3 separate regions of the Homo sapiens genome follow, and all the other regions are linked to region 3. Evidence: promoter capture Hi-C in 16 types of primary human blood cells and fetal thymus (Javierre and others, 2016). All regions are on one chromosome and are shown on one strand. Each heading gives the region's core, a stretch centred on a gene start or on the middle of the fragment in contact. The rest is flanking DNA. Distances are from core to core; before and after follow the strand shown.

What was found. The method cuts DNA at HindIII sites, captures the fragments that hold promoters and counts their contacts. A CHiCAGO score of 5 or more calls a contact.
Region 1: a contact is called between a fragment that was not itself captured here and the fragment with the promoter of EN2 in region 3, in 1 of 17 cell types (neutrophils). The highest score is 9.0, in neutrophils.
Region 2: a contact is called between a fragment that was not itself captured here and the fragment with the promoter of EN2 in region 3, in 1 of 17 cell types (neutrophils). The highest score is 5.6, in neutrophils.

The regions. Positions count from the first base shown.
Region 1 is chr7:155,778,557-155,782,634 of GRCh38, reverse strand. RBM33 (RNA binding motif protein 33) reads right to left here. Exons shown (of 18, transcript NM_053043.3): 18 at 1,155-4,078. Among named protein-coding and RNA genes, the nearest start is that of SHH, 32 kb to the left of the region's middle. RefSeq lists enhancers at 1-97, 98-633 and a silencer at 886-1,180. The HindIII fragment of the contact is 5,935 bases long and covers 1-4,078 here.
Region 2 is chr7:155,712,448-155,717,010 of GRCh38, reverse strand. All of the region lies in intron 8 of RBM33 (RNA binding motif protein 33), which reads right to left. Among named protein-coding and RNA genes, the nearest start is that of RBM33, 70 kb to the right of the region's middle. The HindIII fragment of the contact is 3,679 bases long and covers 914-4,563 here.
Region 3 is chr7:155,455,906-155,459,986 of GRCh38, reverse strand. EN2 (engrailed homeobox 2) reads right to left here and starts at 1,858. Exons shown (of 2, transcript NM_001427.4): 1 at 925-1,858. The coding sequence starts at 1,609. EN2-DT (EN2 divergent transcript) reads left to right here and starts at 2,869. Exons shown (of 3, transcript NR_186580.1): 1 at 2,869-2,997. RefSeq lists an enhancer at 2,205-3,196. The HindIII fragment of the contact is 14,368 bases long and covers 1-4,081 here.

The DNA.
Region 1 (4,078 bases), core at 151-2,650, 320 kb before region 3:
TGCCGGGTGGCTCTGTCAAGCCCTGCACACCGGCCTGGACCAGGGGGATGACAGAAAGGGTGCCACCATGTCCCAATCTGCTTTGGCTTTCACAGCCGCTGACCCACAGGCTGTCCCACGAAGAATGGGAGAGGCCTGTCAAGGGAGCCACATGTCTTCCATCAAACTCAAGGGACCAAAGGAAATGGCAGTGACTGAGAACAGTGGTCCTGTTTCTATGTAAGAAAGGAGAGGGTGCTGACTGAGAACGGTGATCCCGTTTCTACATAAGAAAAGAGAGGGTGCTGCAGGTGGAGAGTGGGCTGGAGCTGGTCACCAGCGCCTCCCGAACCCCAGCACAGACACCAACACCAGCATCCGGGTGAGAGGGGAAGCCGGCCCATCACAGTACACAGGCAGGCTGGAGCTGGTCACCAGCGACCCCCGAACCCCAGCACAGACACCAACACCAGCATCCGGGTGAGAGGGGAAGCCGGCCCATCACAGGGCACAGCAGGGGGTGTGATGGGGGTTATCTTCTTGAATGTTTTGGACAGTAGTTTCTGGAAACAGAGCTGCCTTCTTTTTAAAGACTTCATTTTCAAAATAGACCATAAATTATGAGCAATTTCTAACAACATGAAAAACACGTGGGATACATGAAATGGAAAATATACATGATGGCATATGCACTGTGATCCCAACCTCCAGCGAGGCCTGCACACGGCAAGAACACGCCACCTTGGAAGAACGGCGTCACTGGAGACTGAGCTTCCCCACCTTCAGTCTCTTATTGCCATGCTGGAATACAAGTCTCTTCTGAAGAAAACTTGTAAAAATTATCTATAATGCTTTAAAAAATTAAAAAGACTAACTCCCCCACCCCCAACCAAAAGGAGCATACTTTGATGCCGTCTGCCTGGTCAGTTCGGAGTCATGCAGCGCCCAGAATGCAGGCAAGGAGGCGGCGGCTGCCCTTGACCTTCGTGGCCCACTAATGAGAGAGCTGCGTGAAAGCCGCGGGCTGCAACCCAGCGGCCAATCTGGGGAGCGTGAGGGCAGCCCCCGACCCCGGCCCCTTACAGAGGTGCGGAAGCACCGTCTCGGACACACAGGTAAGATGAGCTGTGGCCCGACCTGAGCGCCCAGACAAAATGAAGGCTACGGAACCAGAGTGGAAACTGCAGGGTTTTATTAACACGACTTCCAAATTACATACAATATAGTTCAAACACATTTTTTTGGTACGAAATCACACAAATGAAACACACAACAGTACATTTTCCTTTCAACTACGTCATTACCATTCTTCACACAGATCCTGAAAAAGTTACCACAGCAGTTAACGCGAAGTGAACAAAGGGGTGGAACAGGCAACGGCATTCCCCCAAGGTAGGTGTGGTGTGTCTGGGAGAAAACAGGATGGAGATCAAACCCAGAGAAACGCACTCCCGTCATCTCTCCATGTCTCAATTTCCAACGCTCTCCCAGTCAACACAGCTTCGCCCCCAACCAGAGCCACCCGGTGCAGCCCGCAGAGTGTACACGCATCAGGGCCGGGAGGCCCCGTCGGCAAAGCAGTAACACACGGTCAGACGGCCGCCACCTCCAAGTGGAGTGAGCCACGCTACCACTAACACTGAACTCAAGCACAAGAGCTCCTGCGAAAGCAGAGGGGCGGGAAACAAAGAAGCGGGTGGTTAAGGGCACGAACCGCACACTGCGGGACGCCGGCATCTTTGAATCGCCACTCACTCCTACAGAGCCAAACTGCAAAACAACAGAATTAAAAAGTTACTCTCTCCAATCAAAGACCTGGAGGAATAAATCGTGAGTGAAGACCTGTCGAAGCAAAGGTTGAGAGGTGATGGAGTGGTAAACACAGTGTGAAAATCGTCAGCACCTTCCCACCCAGCCCACGTGGAGTTCTCAAGGCTGAGGCGGAGCAGAGTGGCAGGAATACGGCCCTCACCCAGTTGAAGCCAGGAGGTGGAGGGAGAGGAGCATGGAAAGCCAGGGAGATGGGAAGGTCTGAGAGAGTGAGTCTTGGAATGGGACAGGAGCTACCAGTGTTAAGAATGGTAGATGGGTTTAGCCAGGAAAGCAAAACAGAAATGGACAGAGAGGGAGAGCCCAGAGCATGGCATGGTGAGGTGATCCCATTACTAAATGAACAGTAGCAAGAAGCAGGCACGTGGAGCAAACAGAATCAGCTCAGACATGAAAAAGGTCACACTCTGTGCTTTGCTGCTGTGGTACCTGAAAATTAAACAGTGGAATTAAAGCCCCAGAGTTCAAGTCCTCACAGAGGACACCATCCTGGATCCCACGCCTGTGAAAAGCAAAGCTGGATTATAGAAACGAGCGGTGGCTTTTTTTGCTCCTTCGGCTCAGGGCACCCCTGTGTGCTGTGCGCGCGTTATTGAAAATGTTACCCACCTAAGAAAAGACTACAGAACGCATACAGCTAGAACGCATACAGCTTACACAGTCCTTGCAAAACCAGCTTCCGCCACGGGTGCCCTTAAAATGAAAAGCAGTTTAAAAGAAAATCATGCTAAAAGAATGCATGAGGTCTACTTTCTAGAGTATATTAAATTATTAAATACAGAATACATTACAATAGTACCTGTCTGCCTATCCACTCTATGGAACATATTAAAATAAAAAACTACATGCTGTTTCTTTTTAAAGGCCTACATTTTTCTATATACCTTTTAAAATCAGTAAAATAAAACCAAGCAAAATATCAACATGAAGACCTCCTTCTCTTTTAGTTGGTTAGAAGTCAAAGGAAAAAGCAAGTACTCAGAAGTGTCTCACTAAAATACCTGTTCCGTCCGCCAATCTTAAAGATTTCCTACCAAAACATGACACAGAAAAGAGAGAGTTGAGACATTAAAAGCATTTTCTAGCCAAGGCAGGTTACAATGTGTGAGGCAAACGGCCTTTTCCAGCCATATGCTACCAGCAGAAGGTATACCTGGGGATCCAATATGAATCAGTGAGTTCCGCTTTAGTTCCAGTACACAAACCACGGGCTTATGCACCTCAGAAGTTAGGCATTTAAAAAAAATTAAATAGGTTGCAAAAAAACCTTACATAAAATCCTTAGGATTTAATATTAAGTCAAGGCTAAATGCCTTTGGAGAATTCATATTTAAGAATGTCCAAAATAACACTCCATTCACAAACTTTAAAAATAGCTGAAAAAGTTAACTGAAATGCTCTTTAAATACACTAAAGTATCTAAGCCTCTCCCTAGTCGATCTGGACTAGCGGCTTTCCGAGTGGTGGTAGTCGGGTGCCTCCGAACCTTTCCTGCCCTGCACACACTCCTATCAGTCAACTCCCTGGTAGAATCGTCACCTCTAATTTTTTGAAAAACCAATAATACCTTTCGAGCTTTCTCTCGCCCACCCCCCTCCCTCCCACTCCAAATTAAAAAAAAAAAAAATGGGGTGGAGGATCATAGCTTAATGAAGGGAAGCCAACCTGGGTCTAAAAGCGATTACGTCAAGCCATAGCTGAGGCCTACAAGTAGGGAGGGAGGGTAATAAAAAAACGAATCCCAGGAAGAGCACCACGAAAGCGGGAAGCCTGAAGTCACCCACAAAGGGCACTGCAGACACCGCACCAGGAATGTTTCTTAAGAGCTGGCAGTCCTCTCCAGGGAGAGAGCAGAGGAGGGGAACAGCCGCAGGGACTAGAGAGTTTCTAGGACTCCACGATGTGCCGGCACAGCATGCTGCCATCACACACGCTGACCTCCTTGTCCTGTGCAATTACATGACTAGGACCTGCCTTCGACAAGCGTCTGATGGTCTATGAGCACATTCCGCTTACCTTCCCAATAAAATAACAAAGAAATACAAAACAAAACAAACAGAACAAAACAAAAACAACAAAAGCCAAAAGAAAACAAGTGATGAGTGATGAGTTCTTCAAACCCATCCCAGGACAAGGCTCCAGGGCCTCGGGGGTCCCTCACCTGCCCTACCTGAACTGTCCCAGCTGATCACCACCCAGTGAAGACGTTCCCCTCCCCCACTCCTCCAGGCCATCCAGCGGATGCCCCTGTGCCGCCAAACACCCTGGC
Region 2 (4,563 bases), core at 1,504-4,003, 260 kb before region 3:
CCATACATTAAGCCTTATAATTGACATCGCACTTCCCACACTTCAATTTCAAGTGATAGCATACATGGCCTGTGTCACTGCTTGATCAAATGCAAAGTGTGACTGAAACAAAACTTACTTTTATAAAATGTAAAAATGGCAGAAGTTCATCCCTTCCTTGACAGACTAATCTAATGAGTCCAAATTTCAAAATTAGAGTGGGTCAGTTTGCAAGACTTTATATAAAATAGAATCCAACTCTCCCCTCAATTCTACACAGCTGATGTTACATCAATTCCATATCTAAAGTGAAACACTAGACTGGAGAAAGTGGAGAAAGAAAAAAACAAGAATATCTCTGACCTCAGAAGATTATAATGAAGGTGACAAAGAAAAACACTACATATTAAATGTAAAGACGTGATTTTTATAATCAAGTTAACAAATATAAGACACCCAGATCTTCACTAACTCGATCATAGGTACCACTTAGAAACTTGGAATTTAAATGCCAATATCTACCAAAACATTCCAACACGATAAAAGGATAAAACATTAAGCCTCTTTAACCAGGAGAATGAGAGCAAGAAGGTGAGGTGGGATTTCTAGAAAGCAATCTGATTATAATAAATGGATTTCTTACACAGAAGCCTCTGATGAGCTGGTAATTTGCACAAAGTACCAGCCTTTTCCCTATTTAAAAAAAAAAAAAAAACAGCAGAAAAGGAAAAACAGCTGACAAAAAGGGTTGCTGCGTGCGGACAGTCCAGTCCCCATGGGAACAGTGCAGACACCTGGCCCACCCAAGAGATGCCACCTCAGTGGGAATACCCAGGCATGTGTCTGCGGGCTCTCCCTGCCAGGCCCTGGCTGCCCGACTACTGCAGCGAAGAATTTAACAGGTGTGATGTTAGAGACCAGTCTAGCTGAAGCTTCAACTTGAATATTTGAAGTTTAATATTTATAACTTGTCCCATGTATTTAATGGACTGTTTTCAATTCATTATAATTATAATACTAAAAACCTGGAAACAAGTTAAATTTCCATCAAAATTGTTTTTAAATAAATTATAACGGAACACTCTTCATCCTCAGAAAGTCTGTGCCATCAGAAGAAGATGTATATATATTGCTAGCTTTTTTAAAAAGCACCTTTCATCTGTGTAAGGCTCTGAGAATCAAAGGTTTAATCTGTGTATCTTTTACCTACAGGAGACATCTTGATATTCAGTCTCTCTCAAGAGGAACTGTGCATTTCTATTTAAGCTCATTCATCTATTAGAGAATAAACAACTGCTTCGAAAGTGTTGCCTATCTACCTAGCAAGAACACTTTGTCCTTCTCTCCTGTGTCAGTGTACCTCTGAAGGTCAAAGGTAAATGACAGATAAGGGACATGCGGCACTAAAGCTCCTAGTTTCATGGTGAGAAAAAGCTAGCTGGTTCTGAGTTTAAAAACTTTTGTCAGAAAGCTGACCTTGGAGTAGTTGCTAAATCACACGTGCGCTTTGGGGTGCAAGGCCTGCATTCTACACTTGCCAGGCTGTTGACTTTTGCAGGGGACACCATTTTCATACATAGAGGATATCTTGGGGCTTCCTGACAGCTTTACCACCCTATATTTCTAAGACTATTTTAGTGAAGCTAAAGAAAATCTGTACGTATTACCAGCTGCCAGCTTTCCACGGCATTTTACAAGGAAATGCACAAGAATAACAGATGCTAGCATAAGCAAAATTATTCCAACAAATTAGACTGACAGCAGTTCCAAGTTCAGGACAACCACTATGGGGAAGATGCAAAGGATTACTTGAAAGAAAGCCACCCTTCCCCATTCAAGTATGCGTGTGTTCATGTCTCCATTCATTCAACGGCTACTGCAGGAGACGTAGGCACCACACCAATCAGCGACGCTCAGGGCCACCTAAGAGGATGTGTGGATGAGCGATGCTAACCAGGGTGGGAAAAACTTTGGGGGAACACAGGGACATGCGATGGGGTCAGGAGGGGTTAGGAGTTAATTGTACTTTAAAACCTTATGCTTCTCTGCCATGCCCAGTGGCCTGGTGGTGACCCGCAGACACTGTCAAGAGGCGCCCCCCTCCCTTACACTCTGGGCCAGCCCGTCACCATCACAGTCCCCTGCTCCATGGCCACAGGACAACTTCATAATACTTCTCACCCACGTATGGGAGGGTCCCAGGATCTAGGCCACTGGCCAATCCCCTGCACTTGAACTACTACCTTAGGCTACTCTCCACTTCTGAAACTTCTCTCCCACACCCTTAGGAATCCCAAATTCCCCACCCATCAGCAGCATCCACCACACCCTTGAGTTCCTTCACCTTCTCGCTCTAATGGCCCCTCTGAGTGGCAGCTGTTCTCCCACAGCTTCTTGCCAAAGGTCTGGAGGTAGAAGGGCTCCTTCTTGATCTAACTGCTGCTTCCAGACCCAGCTTTCATCTCATGCCACCAGCTGACATGCCCCAGCACCACACTGGCCCTCTCATTTCTCAGGGAGTTCAGCTCCAGTCTGAATAAACACAAAGACGGCCCTTGCCGTGCCCTGCCTCAGATCCGTGCCACCTCTGCCTCCAGTCCTGGTGACCATTCCACCCTTCCATCTCACTCCCTCTAGGATCCTGATTCAAACAATCGTTCAACTCTACAAAGATCTCCAATGATCTCCTTTTCACCATCTCAGCCTCCTCCCTGGTGTCTTCTCCTCCCTGGCATCTACCTTATGATCCACAGCCCATCGTTATCAGCACTGCCTTCCCTTTACTACTTTGTGAAAACTATGACCCTCATAAACCCAACTGCCTGCCTATTCCACACCTAGTGTGCGCAGATGAGCGCAGCTGGACAGAGACACACAACCATGCTGACTGCCCTCACCTCAAATCCACACCCCTCAAGGGCTCAGCAGCCCCATCCATCCCTGCGCACATCCACTCTTCGAAAGCACGAACGGATGCTCCAAAGCGCCTCTCCTCAGACCTTCAACACGCCCTCCTACCTCCCCACTCTAGCTCCCTGCTACCCACCGAGGAAACTGAGGCCACCAAGGAAGAACTGACACAAGACTCCTCCACCTGCCCATCCATCTGCCCCAGCTGTGGAGGACTCCCTGCTCCTCCCCCTCAGCAAGCCCACCTCTGGCACGTGGTCCTGGACAAGACAAGTTTTTCCTCTCATCTGCATCAATGATGTTTTTCCTTCTTAACTAGCTCTTTTCTGTAAGTGCAATGAATAAAAAACTTAGAATAAAAAACTTTCTCTCAAGCCCACTTGGCTCCCATCAATTATCATCCAACTTCTGTTTTAGCAAAACACAGTCAAAGTCTGTCAATACAGTGGCCTCAAGTCCGTGCCCCATCTCAGCCAGGCCTGTGCCTCCTCCTCACCAGCCCCGCCCCAAGTGCAGGCCACACCCACTGACCCATTGGCAGCAGCCCTGCCAGCCCGTGGCCACCTGCTTCCTTCCCCATCGACCGTCATCCTCCTTCCTCCCTCTCGGCTCCTTTGCCAGGCTCTCCTCCTGCCCCCATTCCCACGTCGAGTGCCGGGGTCCCAGTCCTTGGCCTCCCTGACGGGTTCTCCTCCTGCCCCTCCCCCTCCTGTGTCAAGTGCCCTAGGTCCCAGTCCTTGGTCTCCCCACACACAGACTCCCTCCTCCAGGGCTCTCATTTGAGGGCAGGGTCTAAATCCACCTATTCACCAACAACCTCCTGACCTGTACTTTGAGCCCAAACCCCTATACTGAATTCTCATCCAACTGCCTACTAGACCCCTCCACTCACATGGCTAGTTGGCATCTCAAATTTAATGCACCCAAAACAGAACTTTTGATCTCCCCACCTCAGGTGATGGCAACCAGACCAGCCCTCTAAATGCTCTGGTCACCTGGGCATCACTCTTACCTCCTCTCTCCCTCTCACACTCATCCAATCCATCAGCAAATCCCATCGGCCCCATCTTCCTACTTCATCCAGCTCTGAGCTCTCTGCACTCTCCCTGCTACCACACTGGTTTGCACCAGGATCATCTGTCACCTCCTAGCTAGACACCAGCTTCCACCCTTGCCACCCGACAGTCTCCTCTCAACACGGCAGCAAGAGGAATCTTCTAAAACATACACAAGGTCACGTCATTCCTCTGCTCAAACCCCTCTAATCCCTGCCCATTTCACTCCCTGCCAAAGTCCTGAGAATGGCTGGATGGCCCCACGGCCCCACGGTACCCAGGTTCTGCATTTCTTCTCTGCTTTGATCACTCCACAAAAGTCACGCTGGTCTCCTTTTGGCTACTCAAACACACAAGGCAGGGTCTCTCCTGGAGGAAGCCCCCTTATACTTGCTGATCACTCTGCCTGCAATCTTCTTCCCTGAACAGCCACATTGCTAACTTACAGATATCCCTCAACTCTTTCCTGCTCAGTGAAGTTCACCCTGATCACCCCATTTAAGATACAACCCATCCCTTCCCCGCATCCTGCTCAATTTCTCACTGCATTTTCATCTTCTAACATGCCACATAAAATACTTATGTTTACTGCTAATAAACAATAATAAGACTGTCTGAT
Region 3 (4,081 bases), core at 609-3,108:
TAATGGCGGTTCCCAGCCGCAGACCCGCATGGAATGCAGTTGATGATTTCTACAAGGACATGGACTTAGTTTTTTAAAATCGCAGATCTATGAAAAAATATATCCAGCATCTCTGCAGGGCCCCTGCGAATGCTGCCTCTTTCCCATCAGCAGCCCCCAGGAAACCCTGAGAGAAGGTCCTTTCTATTTGGGGATGGCAGGTGCCGGGAGGGACGGCTGCCTCCCTTGTCCTCGCTGTGTGCAGGAAGGGGGCTGAGCCCCACCACTGCGGGCTGGCGCTGGCAAACAAAGTGGAGCCAAGGGGAAAGGGCGCCTTTATTTTCCTCCTTCCCTGTGTGCATCCTCCTGAGTCCCACCGGTCAGCGCAGGCCCGAGGGGCAGAAGGCAGAGCGGCAAAGGGCCTCGCCTTTTCTTCCCCGAGCACAGCCGGGATAACCGGATGGTAGGACAAGTCTGGGGTGGGCTGGGGCATGCGTCCCCGGCCTGGCCTGAGTTGGAAGATCGTAGGGAAGGGGATGAGAGTGTGCACTTCCGGGCCCATCTTCCAGCCACCACGTTCCCACCAAAAAAAACTACAGTGGGGGAGACATGGGCTAGGGGCTGGGAAGAGATGCGCCAAGGCGGGGTGGAAGACAGAGAGGGGAGACAGGGAGAGAGGAAGGAGAGAGAGAGACAGAGAAAGAAAGAAGGTCCCTTCTGCGGTCCTAAGAAGTCTGTACCCCCTAGCGAATCAGTCCTGCCGCTGGACTCCTGGCCGCTGCCCGGGCCGGCGTCAGCTTCACACAATGTCGCGTGAGTCTTTGTGCGTGTGCGCGGGGGAGGTTCGAGATGTTTTCCTCCCGGTAAGTTCCCGCGCCAGCACCGCCCCCCAGCTCCGCGGGCCTCCCCGCGGCGAGCCGGGACGCGTGGTCCCCGCGGGCTCACCTGAAGAAGGCCGGTCCGAGTAGCGCGTACAGTAGACCCACGCCGGCCAGAGCATGGGCTGCGCGCCCAGGTTGGCGCCGGCTTGCGAGCTGTCCGAGTCCGAGCTCACCGACAGGTCGCCGCCGCCCAAGCCGCGGGCCTTGAGCGACCCGTCCAGGGGGCCGCCGGGGTCGCCGCCTTTCTTGGCGCCACCGTGCAGCGAGAGCGTCTTGGAGCCGCCTTCCCCGTCACCCGGAGAGTCGCTGCCGGCGGCTGGGAGCGGCCCGCCCGCGCCGGGCGCACATGGCGGGTTCTGCCGGGGCTCTCGGGAGCCCGAGCCCAAGAGCTGCTCCGAGCCGCCCGCGCCGCCGCCTCCCTCCGCACCGCTCGCGCCGCCTTCGCCGCCGGCTCCGCCGCCCCTTCCTCCTCCCGCGCCCGCACAGCAGGTCCCCGCGTCCTTTCGCCGGCCGAACTCGGGCCGCAGGATGTTGTCGATGAAGAAGTTGGTGATGCGGTGCGGGTGCTGGTGGTTGCCGGGCGCCTGCAGGACCGCGGGCAGCATCAGAGCCCGCCGGCGCCCGGTGTCCGCTTCGCCCGGGCTGCTACCGCCGCCGCCGCCCGAGCCGCCGCCGGGGCTGGATTCCGGCTGCCGCTGTCCCTCCACCGCCGCCGCTGCTTCGCCAGGCTTGGGGTCATTCTCCTCCATGCTGTTCACAGTAAATCCCACACTGGTTCTCCGGGGACGCCCTTCCAAATCAGCCTTCGGCCCTCCCGCGGCGCACACGGAGACCCCCGCGCCCCCACCCCGCCGAGTCTTCCGAGGGCGTGCGCGGCGGCCGCGGCCAGGGCTGAGGTCCTACAAGTCGCCGGCCGCGCTCGGCGCGGAGCCACCTTTGAATCCACGAACTGGGTTAGAAACACCACGAGCCGCCCCGCTCGCCCAGACGATGAGAGATTCAACAGAGCCAAGTCCTCGACTTCGCCGCGCAGCCGGGGTCTAGACAGTCGCAGTGGTCCGGCGGGGACGCGGGCCGCCTCCCGGGCTCCCCGCTCCTCTCCGCGTCCGGCCGCCTCGGGCTCCGGCGCCGCCGCCTGGGCCGCCCGGGGCGAGAGCTGCGCGCATGCAGGCAGCGCGTTCCCCGGCGCTCACGCCCGCCCGGGCCGGCTCCGGCCGCCGCCGCCGCCCGGCCGTCCCCGCCCGCACGCCCTAGCCGGCCCTCGAGGGTGCCGGGCGCCCGCGGTCAGCGCGCCCGCCACCGCCCGCACGCACATGGAGGCCCCCTCCTCGCGGCCGCCGCCCCGCTGCGGGCCGGGGCGCCCCACCGGCGTGCGGCCGCGCCCCCGCCGAGCCCCGCAGAGCTCCGCGGCCCGAGTCGCATGGGTGAGAGACGCGAGGCCAGGGCCCGGCCGGGCCGGGCTGGGCCGCCCGCGCTCCCCGGCCGTCCGCCGCCCTCGCCGCCTCGGCCTCCGCGCGGGCTCGGAAATTTCCAGGCCACTCGGCGCAACCTGAGACACTTTCACTCTGGATTTTTGTTCTTATTTTTAACAGAGCCCCCTCGAGTGACGTCGCAGGCCGGTCTCCTGGACACGTGCCTCGGGCCAATGGCCGCGGCGCCGCGCGCCCACGTGACGCTCCGGCCGCCGCTGGGTGACAGGAGCAGCCCGCCGCCCCTCCTCCCCTTAAAGCGGCCGCGTCCCCCGCTCCGGGTGCGGGAGCCCAGGAACCCGGAGAGACCCCCGACCGCGTCTCCTGCGCTCGCCCGCGCTTTCCCTGTCGCTTCGCGGTTCAGGGGTGTGAGTCACCCGGCGACAGCCCCGCCAGGTCACCCCGGGGCGCGTAGGTGGACACGCACAGGAAGATCGCTATTTTTAAGATTTCCATATTGTTTACCGTGGGGCGAAATCCCACAATTCCTTGCACAAAATGCATAAATAATATTAAATGAGCTGCCGAGATACAAAGGGACTTTTGTGGTCCGCTTTCCTTGCTGATGGAGAGGAATAGTGTCACTCCCATTTGACTCGGTAACCCGGCAGCTTCCTGTCTTAAACGCAGAGCTGGCGCGCAGGACACTCCTCCTGCAGACACTTATTGTAAGTGTGCGTGTGTGTGCGTGTGCAGGGAGGCGCGTGCATACGGCCGCATTCCACCCGGGGACAGCGACCCTCATGAAACATGCTTAGCGATCCGAAAGAGCGGGGGAATGCAGTATGCGGCTCCATTTGCGAAGGGAGAAATCCAGGAGCCTCGGAGGTTCTAAAGGAATCCTTTTTGCCAAGGAGAGGAGGGGTGACTGTTCAGCTAAGACTTCAAAACCAAGTCGCCCGCCCCCCTCTAACTTCTCTACTCTGATTGAGGAGCTCCCAGACCGGTCATCTCGTTTTCTTTGTTTTAAAATCCTTTAAACTAATTTTGCCGGAGAGCAGGGCCCATTTGAAACGAGAATTAGGAATCCAACGGCAAGGGTGGGAGCCCCAGTTGGTTTCTCCCCTCCTCTCTCTTCATCTTTTCTAGACTTTCCTTCCAGCTGTTGTCAGAATGTCCAACTGGAAGTTCTGTTTCCTCTTCTCTTCCCCCTCCTCCCTCGGGCTCCTTCCCATTTGCTCTTGTCTACCCACCAAACACCCGTTGTTACCCCAGGCTCGCCTGTCCATCATTTAAAATGCATTTTTATGGAAATGTGTGAATTCCTGGAAACATCCGATAGGGCAGCTCTGGGGGTGCGGGAGCATTTGCACGCCATGAGTACCCTCAGTGCGGGGGAGGCGGGGAGGCCGCAGCCTGGCACGGACACCCTAGGGCTGATTGGCCCTGGGCAGCTGCACCGTGCTCAGCAACCCAGACCCCCGCAGAGGCAGCCAGCAGGTTGCTGCCAGGCCCTGAGTGAACTTGGGGAGTCTGGCAAGCATCTCCGAGGCAGCGTGGCCTGCCAGGCCACCTGGGGCCTGAAGGTTGCACCCTGGCCTTGCGAAGCTCCTTCCCCAGTGTCCATCCCACGTGCTGTCCTTCCCCTGCAGGCTTCAGAGTGCTGGCTGGGCTGGGATGAGAAACGACAGTTCCCACAGCTGCTCCCAGGAAAATTACCCCCCCACCCAGGACGGGAATGGTGGGGGAGGAGGTGCTGGGCTGGCCTCCTGGCCACTGGACGTGGCTCTGGTCAGAGTGTGCCCTCTGTCC